2 separate regions of the Homo sapiens genome follow, and region 1 is linked to region 2. The links are contacts of gene promoters, found by promoter capture Hi-C in blood cells and fetal thymus (Javierre and others, 2016). All regions are on one chromosome and are shown on one strand. Each heading gives the region's core, a stretch centred on a gene start or on the middle of the fragment in contact. The rest is flanking DNA. Distances are from core to core; before and after follow the strand shown. Region 1 has its middle 6.3 kb from the start of CFAP20DC. Region 2 holds the start of CFAP20DC-AS1 (CFAP20DC antisense RNA 1).

The links. Contacts are between HindIII fragments. The CHiCAGO score rates a contact against its expected background, and 5 or more counts as called.
Region 1: a contact is called between a fragment that was not itself captured here and the fragment with the promoter of CFAP20DC-AS1 in region 2, in 2 of 17 cell types (endothelial precursors and megakaryocytes). The highest score is 7.6, in endothelial precursors.

Annotation. Positions count from the first base shown.
Region 1 is chr3:59,052,913-59,059,682 of GRCh38, forward strand. No RefSeq gene overlaps it. Among named protein-coding and RNA genes, the nearest start is that of CFAP20DC, 6.3 kb to the left of the region's middle. RefSeq lists a silencer at 5,447-5,697. The HindIII fragment of the contact is 3,967 bases long and covers 2,959-6,770 here.
Region 2 is chr3:58,819,620-58,826,138 of GRCh38, forward strand. It overlaps CFAP20DC-AS1 (CFAP20DC antisense RNA 1), which reads left to right and starts at 4,852. Exons shown (of 3, transcript NR_110820.1): 1 at 4,852-4,956. The region is part of intron 14 of CFAP20DC (CFAP20 domain containing); the gene reads right to left. The HindIII fragment of the contact is 7,858 bases long and covers 313-6,519 here.

The DNA.
Region 1 (6,770 bases), core at 3,692-6,191, 230 kb after region 2:
AAAGGAGTAGCTTAAAACAACAGAAATTTATTCTCTCATAGTTCTGGAGGCCAGAAGTCCAAAATCAAAGTATCAGTAGGGCCACACTCCCCCTAGTGGCTTTAGAGGAGGATCCATTCTTTGCCTCATCCAGCTTCTGGTAGCTGTTGGCACCCCTTGAATTGTGGCTTCATTTGGAGGCCAGAAGTCCAAAATCAAAGTGTCAGTAGGGCCACACTCCTCTAGTGGCTTTAGAGGAGAATCCATTCTTTGCCTCATCAGCTTTTGGCAGCTGTTGGCACCCCTTGAATTGTGGCTCCATTTCTCCAGTCTCTGTCTCACCTCCGTGGTCACATTGTCTTCTCTTCTGTGTGTGTTTTCCCTGTGTGTCTCTTATAAAGAGGTTGTAATAGTATTTAGGGCCAACTTTGATAATCCAAGGCAATCTCTTTATTTCAAGATAATTTAATCACATCTCCAAAGACCAATTTTTCCAAATAAGGAAACATTTACATGCTCCGGGGGTTGATGTGAATATCTTCTTTGGGCAGCTGTTAATAATAAGGATGGCAAAAGGTATAATGAAAATCTGGGAAGAATCTAGGGGACATCTTAAGGCTTCTAACAATCTACTTGGGTCTCTGAAAAGGGTCTTTTGACACCATAGTTGAAGTGAAATCCACAACTTTGCCCTACTTTATTTTTTTCTTCCTCTTATGATTACATGAGTTAATATGTTTATCATTTATCTACAACTAAAAGGGTGAATTAATAACCTCAATTTGTCAATGAAAAAATGAGCTACAGAATTGAAAATGAATAATTACAGTGAATCAGTAAGTCTTATTACTCAGGTGTTTTTGGTTTTGATCACCTGTTTATTCAACTTAAGACTAGAAGGAAACAGTGTCCATTTATTTCAGTGTCCTCACTTCCTAAAGAGAAAGTAATAGTCCAAAGCCAAACATTGTCATCTGACCGTCCTAATTTCTAACAAGTTCAGGAGACTCAGAGTTGGATTTTCATTAGCAAGTATGATATACTGCTTGTCCAGGAAATGGGCAAATCTGAAAGCTGCCCAAGTTTATCAATGGTATTTTGCCTATGGTGAGAGCCACCATTAACAATGACAATGGTAGCAATAAAACAAAAATAAGAATGTGCAGTACTTTAACAGTATGAATTCAAAATCAGAGAAAGGTGGAAATCCAACTTTACAATAGCAAGTACTCTTCAATTTGATTGAATGCAAGCTATGAACAAAAACTTGGATTTGACTATGACTTCAAGGATATCTAGCAGAATTCTGAAAAAAAGAAAAAAAAAGAAAAAAGCCAGCCTGCCCAAACAACTTGGCTTAAACCAAGTTATTTATGTTCATTATAAAAGATAAACCAAGTTATTTATGTTCCCTATAAAAGACAGTGAAACAATTTCTTTAATTGCTACAATTTTTTAAGAAGTTGGTACATTTAGTAATTGCGTTAAATTGCTTAACTTAATTTGATAACTTTAAGATTAGTCACTTTACAAGCTGTAAAGTGCTTGTCTTTGTTCTACAAAGAAAGTGATTGAAAAAAATAATTTGTTGGTATATTAATATTAAAGGATATTGGATAGTATTTAAAATGGAATAGACTAGAAACAGTTTTTAAAGAGTGGCAGTCTTCGTATGCCAATATAGCCATTCCACTTAGATGAGTATGATTATCAATTTGACGAGAAATAATATCTTTTGAACTAAGAATGTACTGTATTTACCACAATATTGTTGTAGTTTATATTTTGATTACAGTACATAATCTAATTATTTGGCTAATGGGAAGAAATAAGATATCTGTTTCATGAGAATTTGCTACACAGTAATCTAGAAATGTTTAATACTTGAAGGGTTAATTTTTTATACATTATGGAATAGCTTTATGAATGATAATGTTGAGTTGATAGGAAAGTTTTGAAACTGGGCCTATTTTATAGTTTTAAGCAAGAAAAATTAATGATACCAAAGTTATTCATTTGACAGGTGATTTGAAAATAGTAGTGTCTTCTTTTTTCCAGAAAGTATGGAATGGTGAAAGTTTTTGAGGGCTTTACTGTTTTTAGATTTTCTCCTCAAATGGGTTTTTCCCCCTTCTCAGGTCCATGAGATCCTATGGGGACTATTTCTTGCCTGTACCTATAGATGACCAAGTACTTCAAAAGTCATGCATCATTTTAAAATTTCCAAAACCACTTGAAAGCTTTCTCAGGAAAACAAGACAAAACAAAAAAACTATCCCAGTAGTTTGATAATTAGGTATGAATACTTTCCTAAATAAAGTAGCTTTACATAGCAAGCACTTAGGTTTAGAAAAACGACCGTTTGCCAAATGCATCTTTGAAAGGAATACATTTATTGAGTGGATATTTAGTATTAATTTGTTTTACAATGACATAAATGATCAAGGTTTTTAACAGACAAGTTAGATCTAAGTAGCAAGTTTTTCTTGGATAACTTTCTCTAACCTAAAGCCAGTTAGTGTTGATTTGTGATAAAAGGGCTGTAGAAAACTAGATGTTTACATGAGAAAGAATGAAATTGGACTCTTGCTTTACTTTTTAAATGTATATACATGAATTAACTCAAAATGAATCAAAGACATAAGACCTAAAATTATAAAACTCTTATAAGAAAACATAAGGGGAAAACTTAATGACATTGGACTTGGCATTGATTTCTTAACAACCTAGAGTAGATCCAGCTGCATCTAGAGGTCAGAAACATCATCAGGTTTCCTTTCTCCACACTGCTTCCTCTAGGTTGCCTCAGTCGTTAGGCTGGCTCTCTTTAGGTTTACAAAATGGCTATAGCATTCTCAATTTTACATTCTGATATCGCTAAATAGAGCATTTGGGGCTAAAGTCCTGAAGTTTACCTTCATTTGGATCAGTTCAGGGGATATGCCTATCTCTGAAATAAACACTTTGGTCAGATAAATAAGCTTAAGGCTAGATTAAGTGCTTATTCTTAAACCAGTCCCGGCAAACAAGGAGATGAGATATATTGATTGGCTGGGAATGGGGTACCACCCAAACATGTAACTAGGAATGGGGAAGGATTGTTTCCCAAAGGAAACTCTGGGTCCTCTTCTAGGGAAGGAGGAAGATGGATATTGGGCAGCCAAAAGGAGATATCTACTATAATGATTTTTTTTTTTTTTTTACAAATAACAGACACCAGACATATTTTTTAAAAACTCTAACTATACATGAATAATTTAATATGAAAGAAAGGTTCGCTAACATTCTTTAAATGATTTGATGTACATATGTGTAATTCAAATATCATAGGCCCTTTTCATTATCCCAGGATTTACATTAACTCCTTTTTTTTTTTTTTTTTTGAGACGGAGTGTGGCTCTGTCGCCCAGGCTGGAGTGCAGTGCAGCGATCTCGGCTCACTGCAAGCTCCACCCCCTGGGTTCACGCCATTCTCCTGCCTCAGCCTCCCGAGTAGCTGGGAATACAGACGCCCGCCACTACGCCTGGCTAATTTTTTGTATATTTAGTAGCGACGGGTTTTCACCGTGTTAGCCAGGATGGTCTCGATCTCCTGACCTCGTGATCTGCCCACCTCAGCCTCCCAAAGTGCTGGGATTACAGGCATGAGCCACCGCGCCCAGCCTCATTAACTCTTAATATTCAAGCCTGGATTTTTTAAGCTCTTACCTGCTTAGTAACAGGAAATCCAATGTTATTGGATGCCTGTGTATTTCCAGGATCTTTAAGAGGATACTAAGTAGCCAGGAATCACTTCAGAAGTGATTACTTAACTGCATTTTTTTCTCAGACCAAACATTTTTATGAGGGATTCCACTTAGTTGCCATTGTTACCACTATTGCCAAAGAATACCTGCCATGTTTGAAGTTGTTGAAATTAGAATGTAACTGCTTTCGCTAATGTCACCAGTGAAGCAAAGACATCTGGAAGCTGGCCTGACACTCACAGCTAGGTTTTGGTGTTTTGTTGTTGCTATTGTTACTGAACACCAACAGTTTCACAGAATATCAACATCATACAAAACCACTCTGTGACCATGATGAATCAAGATAAAAACATGAATATGGTCCAAATCAAAAAGATGACTAAACATTTCCCTATCGTGGTTAATATGAGTGACTGCTGCTTCTTTACCAATTATAGCTAAGCCTTACTTCATTCTTCCTGTCTTATATATAAGATTTATTAATATTCCCAATCATTGAAATACTCTTGGTTCCTGACAGGATCCAATCCAGAGCAAAGCTCTACTTCCCTAAACCCTCCCCTAAATCAGCTAACATAAGCCCAAATCCTATAGTAAGTTCTAACATCCTCTTACTAGCATACCCAAGGTTCCCCAATGGTGTATTTTCTTCCTTGTTGCAATGAGTAATGAACCCAGCTTCTTCAACTACTGATATATCCCTGATGTTCTTTGGCTGGGGGGCATTAACACCAGTAAATCTAGAATTTTGTGTTTTTATTCTTAGGAAGCAAACTGAATGGTTATTGTGAATTTCACTCAGTTGCCAGGAAGAAGAAAAGTCTTTTCTGCAAAATTATTTGAGCCCCAGTATTCAGTGGTTAGCAATAAAGCTATTGCACTCAAATGATGCAGCTAGTCCAGACCTAACTCTGAAGCCCAGACCCCAATTGGAACTATTTAAATAAAGTGATCTACACTGTCGCCCTGAGTACCACTTACACTGCCTACCACCATCATTGTCCATACTGATTTTTCGATGTGTATCTTCTTTCATTTACCAAGAGAAAGATGTCTTTTCCAGGTAAGATAAGGTGTTTGGGGTGGGGAAGTCCCCACAGCGAAGCTGACTGGGTCCCAAAGTTCTGTAATTTAAAAAATTCACACATACATACATACATACACACACACACACTCACAGGCCTATTCCATGAGGTTGGTTGGGTTGGGACAAGTTTGACTATTTGCCCTACCCATACCAATATTTCCTTATCATTTCAGGTCCTGTTACTCATCTAACTCATTGTATATTCTTTCCTAATGGTGAATTCTTTTCTGAAGCCCCTCCTAAAATCTGATTTCCCCAATTTTCTGTCAGTTAGGCATAGCTCTGTCAGGTAGGCATACATATGTCAACAGAGTTTAAATATTTTTCTCCTGGGAGGCTCTTGGCCCTCAATAAAACCACCAGATGCAAATAGGTTATGTGTATGAAGAAATTCACACCAGTCCCCTAAAATATCTAATCTTAGTTCAAATTAGACCACATAGAGAGGGAAGTTGTCTAACTCAACTGTCCAAAAGCATCTGAGTTCCACCTCCACTCAAGTGCCCTAGTACTAGCTTATATTTCACCACCAAGAATATGTGCAGAAGAATGGGATTTCCTTCTCTCTTTTCCCCTTTCTCACCCCACAGGAGGCAGATATTTTGTTTAGCATATTAAATGCCGTTAAGCTATGGAACACAGTCAATAATATGTAGAGAAAAGTCTATTCATCTCATAGAAGTTCCAGTGTGAAGAACCCGAAGGACTTCTCAACCCCACCTCACCCACCTCTTACCCCAGGGCCCAGGGTAAGGACCTACCATGACCACTAGGATAGAGAGACAGGTGAAACTTAGAATTCTCCTTCAGCTATGCTTCTAGGATGGAACTGGAACCCAGGAGGGAGTTCAGAGGGATAGAAAAAGCTACAAAGAAGAGGGAAGACAAGATAAATGCGAAGTGGGAAAAAGGCAGTAGAAGGGAATCCAGGATGTTCATCTTGCAAGGTCTTCTGATGTCTGATATTTTTTGTGTTTCTGATAAGTTAATGGAAAGGATATTTTCTTGCCATTCACACAGACTTCTGCATGTGTGCTGATAGTGTGTGCCTAATGCATACAAACACATTCAGAACACCTTTTCAGAACACATATGAATAATAACCATTATTATTATTTCTTATTTCAATAGGTTTTTGGGAAACAGGTGGTGTTTGGTTACATGGATAAGTTCTTTAGTGGTGATTTCTGAGATTTTGGTATGCCCATCACCTAAGCAGCATACACTATACCCAATGTGTAGTCTTTTATCCCTCATCCCCTTCACACCCTTTCCTACAAGTCCCCAAAGTCCATTGTATCATTCTTATGCCTTTGTATCCTCATATCTTAGCTTCCACTTATGAGGGAGAACATACGATGTTTAGTTTTCCATTCCTGAGTAACTGCCCTTAGGATAATGGTCTCCAATTCCATCCAGGTTGCTGCAAATGCCATTATTTCATTCCTTTTTATGCCTAAGTAGTATTCCATGGTATGTGTGTGTGTGTGTGTGTCTATATATATAACATTTTGTTCATCCACTTATTGATTGATGGGCATTTGGGCTGGTTCCATGTGTTTGCAGTTGTGAATTTTGCTGCTATAAACATGCATGTGCAAGTGTCTTTTTCATATAAGGATTTTTTTCCTTTGGGTACATACCTGGTACTGGGATTGCTGGATCAAATGGTAGATCTACTTTTAGTTCTTTAAGGAATCTCCACACTGTTTCCACAGCGCTTGTACTAGTTTATATTCCCACTAGCAGTGTAAAAGTGTTTCCTTTTCATCACATCCATGCCAATGTTTATTATTTTTTGATTTTTTCCTTATGGCCATTCTTACAGGAGTAAGGTGGTATTGCATTGTAGTTTTGATTTGCATTTCCCTGATAATTAGTGATGCTGAACATTTTTTCATATGCTTGTTAGCCATTTGTATATCTTCTTTTGAAAAATGTCTATTCATACCATTTGT
Region 2 (6,519 bases), core at 3,602-6,101:
TAACAGGATCTGAAATTGTGGCAATAATCAATAGCTTACCAACCAAAAAGAGTCCAGGACCAGATGGATTCACAGCCGAATTCTACCAGAGGTACAAGGAGGAACGGGTACCATTCCTTCTGAAACTATTCCAATCAATAGAAAAAGAGGGAATCCTCCCTAACTCATTTTATGAGGCCAGCATCATCCTGATACCAAAGCCGGGCAGAGACACAGCCAAAAAAGAGAATTTTAGACCAATATCCTTGATGAACATTGATGCAAAAATCCTCAATAAAATACTGGCAAAACGAATCCAGCAGCACATCAAAAAGCTTATCCACCATGATCAAGTGGGCTTCATCCCTGGGATGCAAGGCTGGTTCAATATACGCAAATCAATAAATGTAATCCAGCATATAAACAGAGCCAAAGACAAAAACCACATGATTATCTCAATAGATGCAGAAAAAGCCTTTGACAAAATTCAACAACCCTTCATGCTAAGAACTCTGAATAAATTAGGTATTGATGGGACATATTTCAAAATAATAAGAGCTATCTATGACAAACCCACAGCCAATATCATACTGAATGGGAAAAAACTGGAAGCATTCCCTTTGAAAACTGGCACAAGACAGGGATGCCCTCTCTCACCACTCCTATTCAACATAGTGTTGGAAGTTCTGGCCAGGGCAATGAGGCAGGAGAAGGAAATAAAGGGTATTCAATTAGGAAAAGAGGAAGTCAAATTGTCCCTGTTTGCAGACGACATGATTGTATATCTAGAAAACCCCATTGTCTCAGCCCAAAATCTCCTTAAGCTGATAAGCAACTTCAGCAAAGTCTCAGGATACAAAATCAATGTACAAAAATCACAAGCATTCTGATACACCAACAACAGACAAACAGAGAGCCAAATCATGAGTGAACTCCCATTCACAATTGCTTCAAAGAGAAGAAAATACCTAGGAATCCAACTTACAAGGGATGTGAAGGACCTCTTCAGGGAGAACTACAAACCACTGCTCAAGGAAATAAAAGAAGATACAAACAAATGGAAGAACATTCCATGCTCATGGGTAGGAAGAATCAATATCGTGAAAATGGCCATACTGCCCAAGGTAATTTACAGATTCAATGCCATCCCCATCAAGCTACCAATGACTTTCTTCACAGAATTGGAAAAAACTACTTTAAAGTTCATATGGAACCAAAAAAGAGCCCGCATCGCCAAGTCAATCCTAAGCCAAAAGAAGAAAGCTGGAGCCATCACACTACCTGACTTCAAACTATACTACAAGGCTACAGTAACCAAAACAGCATGGTACTGGTACCAAAACAGAGATATAGATCAATGGAACAGAATAGAGCCCTCAGAAATAACGCCACATATCTACAATTATCTGATCTTTGACAAACCTGAGAAAAACAAGCAATGGGGAAAGGATTCCCTATTTAATAAATGGTGCTGGGAAAACTGGCTAGCCATATGTAGAAAGCTGAAACTGGATCCCTTCCTTACACCTTATATAAAAATCAATTCAAGATGGATTAAAGATTTAAACGTTAGACCTAAAACCATAAAAACCCTAGAAGAAAACCTAGGCATTACCATTCAGGACATAGGCATGGGCAAGGACTTCATGTACAAAACAACAAAAGCAATGGCAACAAAAGACAAAATTGACAAATGGGATCTAGTTAAACTAAAGAGCTTCTGCACAGCAAAAGAAACTACCATCAGAGTGAACAGGCAACCTACAAAATGGGAGAAAATTTTTGCAACCTACTCATCTGACAAAGGGCTAATATCCAGAATCTACAATGAACACAAACAAATTCACAAGAAAAAAACAAACAACCCCATCAAAAAGTGGGCAAAGGACATGAACAGACACTTCTCAAAAGAAGACATTTATGCAGCCAAAAAACACATGAAAAAATGCTCATCATCACTGGCCATCAGAGAAATGCAAATCAAAACCACTATGAGATACCATCTCACACCAGTTAGAATGGCAATCATTAAAAAGTCAGGAAACAACAGGTGCTGGAGAGGATGTGGAGAAATAGGAACACTTTTACACTGTTGCTGGGACTGTAAACTAGTTCAACCACTGTGGAAGTCAGTGTGGCGATTCCTCAGGGATCTAGAACTAGAAATACCATTTGACCCAGCCATCCCATTACTGGGTATATACCCAAAGGACTATAAATCATGCTGCTATAAAGACACATGCACACGTATGTTTATTGCGGCATTATTCACAATAGCAAAGACTTGGAACCAACCCAAATGTCCAACAATGATAGACTGGATTAAGAAAATGTGGCACATATACACCATGGAATACTATGCAGCCATAAAAAATGAAGAGTTCATGTCCTTTGTAGGGACATGGATGAAATTGGAAATCATCATTCTCAGTAAACTATCGCAAGAACAAAAAACCAAACACCGCATATTCTCACTCATAGGTGGGAATTGAACAATGAGATCACATGGACACAGGAAGGGGAATATCATACTCTGGGGACTGTTGTGGGGTGGGGGGAGGGGGGAAGGATAGCATTGGGAGATATACCTAATGCTAGATGAGGAGTTAGTGGGTGCAGCACATCAGCATGGCACATGTATACATATGTAACTAACCTGCACAATGTGCACATGTACCGTAAAACTTAAAGTATAATAAAAAAAAATCATGAAAAAACAAACAAACAAACAAACAAACAAAAAAAACCAAACACCGCATATTCTCACTCATAGGTGGGAACTGAACAATGAGATCACATGGACACAGGAAGGGGAATATCACACTCTGGGGACTGTTGTGGGGTGGTGGGAGGGGGAAGGGATAGCATCAGGAGATATACCTAATGCTAGATGACGTGTTAGTGGGTGTAGTGCACCAGCATGGCACATGTATACATATGTAACTAACCTGCACAATGTGCACATGTACCCTAAAACTTAAAGTATAATAAAAAAAAAAAAGACTATACAGACTGATCCCTTTCCATCTTTGCTCATAGTGATTTTTAAGTGTTAGAAAACAAAAAAGTAACCAATGGAAACTTTTCAAATAAAAACTGCTGACACGAACACATAGAAAGGTGAACAACTAGCTGTCTGAGGCTAGACATCCTCACCTACAAATGGATATTGATGGAGTTCAGGACATGGCATTTACAGTAGCAGGAAGGTCACTCTCACCTTCTCCTGTTCTCCCCTGCAGCTGGTCATAAAACATAGCTAGGATTTTCTGAACACCCCCTGGAGCAGGTCATAAGATACTCATTTGAGAGATGCCGTCCCTATCCCCTGAAGAAAGGAACATCCTTATCTCTGAAGACACAGGGACACAGAGAAGAATCTGAACAAAAGCCTTGCTGATTTTCTTCGTTTATTTCCATTAGCTCATATCTCCTTTGCCCAATCATATTTCTCCACCACTTTCCTCTCTTCATCAAACCTGGAGTAAAAATATTCAAGTTTCACTGTTTGTTCAGTTCTTCATTTCCTTATAAAGACTCCTGTATCATGGAAAACTTACATGAAATAAATTTGTATGTTTTTCTTTTGCTAATCTGTCTTTTGTTGCAACAGAGGCCTTGGCGATGAATCCAGGGTGGGTGAGAAAAAGATATTTTTCCTCCCCTACAATATGCTTATAAACATATGTAGCAGTAAACCTATTTCTAGGTAGGTAGCATCCTGTGAAAGCACCAATGAAATAATATAGAATTTGTTTTGATTTTGGCATTCAGTCATACCTAGAGAATATCGTAAGTAGATGCAAAGGGATGACAACCAGTATCTACAATGAACTACGACCATCATCATAATAGCGGCGATTGACATTTATTGAGTACTTATGCTAATTCTTGGTAGATATGATCTTATTTGATCCTCAGAGCAATTCTATGAAATAAATAGGATGAACAACTACATTCAACAGAAGAGGAAATTGACACTGGGTATTAACCCAGGATCGTGCCTGCCAGGAAAGAGTGGAGCTAGAATGTGAACCCAGGCAGTCTGAGTCCACAGCTTACCCTCTCAACCACTAGTCTGTAGTGTTTATTCCAGCTCGAGAGTGCATCTAGAGTGGTGACTATTTAAGTTTTTGAATAACAAAATGACAAAATCAGTTCTGTTTGTGGCAGGAAAAAAAAGTGACCCTGAAGAAATACATTTATTTGAAATATATATGACTATCTCCTTACCATAAATTAATTTCATTGTTTTCATTCTCATGACATGTCACTATGTATTTACAATTTAAAAAATCAGTTTTGCCACGTTACTAAATTTGGGACAATCATAAAATGTAATAGACAGTACTCTGAGAATAAGAAAAGTTTATTTCCTGGGGTGACTTTCATAGTCACTAAACACAGAACAACTTGCACATTTCAATATTTCCTCCTGACAGTACAGATACTGTCTCTATTGTCACTATTACACTGACTCTAATATCAGTTTTCGTATATCATTTCTATAGTTGTATAAGAACATCTGCTCATATGATTTATCTGCAGCTTAGCACAATCAACTGCATACCTTTTTAGTTCAGGAGGATTAAAAGAAAACTCATTCTACCCAAAGAGAGCTGAGAAGTTAATGAATCTGTAGATCAGAACAAATTAAAACCTATTAATTATAAGGAGTCTGAAATGCCAATATATTATATTTTGAATACACAGCAACCAGGAATATCATGCAAAAACGCTGATATGCTGTGGAGCAAAGAAATGGAACAGATCCCAGAAACTCAGGACCTCGGCCTTTTGGTGGCGCTGTTGCTATGTGCTAGTGCCAGGAAAACAGTATTCATATATAATTAACTACCACGGAGCACAAGCAGCTTTGCTTTTCCATGATCAAGCTGCTAGAGATTTTGGGGTGAGGGAGCGAAATGAAGGCTAAATAAAAGAACCGGAGATAAGATAATCCTGCCATGTTAAAAGGTAAAGATAATATTTTTATGTTGTTATGTAAAACCTATGAAAATGGCGATAATGTTGCAAGGTTAATCAAGACCATAAATAACTTGTCTGAGAACCTCACCATATGCCTGCAGTTTTATTAAGTGTATTTTGCCTCGTTATTCTCCGAATATTATGCTCTGCAACATGCCATGTTGATGGATGCATGCAATGAGCTTTTCTTTTCTTTTTTGTAAGCTAAAGAGACTTATGTGCTTGATATTAGGTATGGGAATTCTTTTTTTTTTTTTTAAGAGATGGGGTCTCATTGTGTTACCCACACTGGCCTTGAATTCCTGGGCTAAAATCCTCCTGCCTTAGCCTCCCAATTAGCTGGGAATACAGACCTGTGCCACCATGCCCCCGTTCAGGTTATGTTAATTATTAACCTGAAGGAATGACAGCTTTGGGGCATCTGCTCACAGGGTAGCTGCACAATAAACCTACTTTTCTTGAATCTACATTTGAGGAGAGACAGTGAAATGAAATATTGAAATAATGAGATAATGAAGGAGTTTATTTGGAAGGATCTGAGGGAGTCAGTCTGTATGCTGATGGTTAAACTCACATCAAAACAAACACTACAGAATCTCTGCTTACTCTTTCAGGTCTCAGTCGTCATAAAAAGGGAAAATGTCCTAGAAATTCTGTTCTGATCACTCAAGTGGCCCTTTGAGGAGAATAACCTTGGGGAAACAGCAGTTGACAGTCAGTGTGAGCTTACTCTGCTAAGCACCAGGCACATGCATTTCATGTACTCATTCGATTTGCATAATGCCAATATTAGGAAGGTTCTTTTATTATTTCCATTTCAAAGATGATCATGTCCATAAATGGCAGAGCTGGAATTTGAGCCCAGGTTGACTGATCTAGAGTTTATATTTGTTTGGGCATCCCATGAAGCAGTGTCCATTGATAGCTGTTCCTGTTCCTTAAAAAAAGAAAACACACACACACACACACAACATGGCTTTATGCTATTGTCAATCAAAATCCCTCACCAAGATAAAATTCACTTAAAATTCATTATAACTAACTCCTAGTGCCCTTCCAAAGGCTGCCGAGAGCCCAGTTTTTGAATAAATCTCACGAGGGCTACTCCTAACAGAAACTCTCCAAAATTGATTGATTGTAGCCTGGTTTCCACAGAAGTTGTAAAGTATTGTTTTAATTGAATTTGGTTCTAAGTTAGAAACTTTGAAAAATTTGTCTGTCAAAGGCCAATGGATTTCTCAGTAGGCTTGATTTATTTAGCAAGAGATGCCTACAAAAGCCAATTTGCTATGAGGAATGTGGTTACATTTAATTACACTTTTAAATGACTAATTTGTTATATCTAAACACCTTTTAAACAGTACATATTACTCTGAACTGTACAGATGCTGAGGAATCAAAGTTTGTGTTAAACACAAAGGATTTTGCTAAAGACTCTTCATTTTACTCTGCGTAGGCTTTCTGGCTTCAGACTGCAATGTGTGTGAAGTCGTCAGGTAAAAATGCTAAACTGAATGGGACCGGACTACATCTTTTTCTTCCTATTTGCAA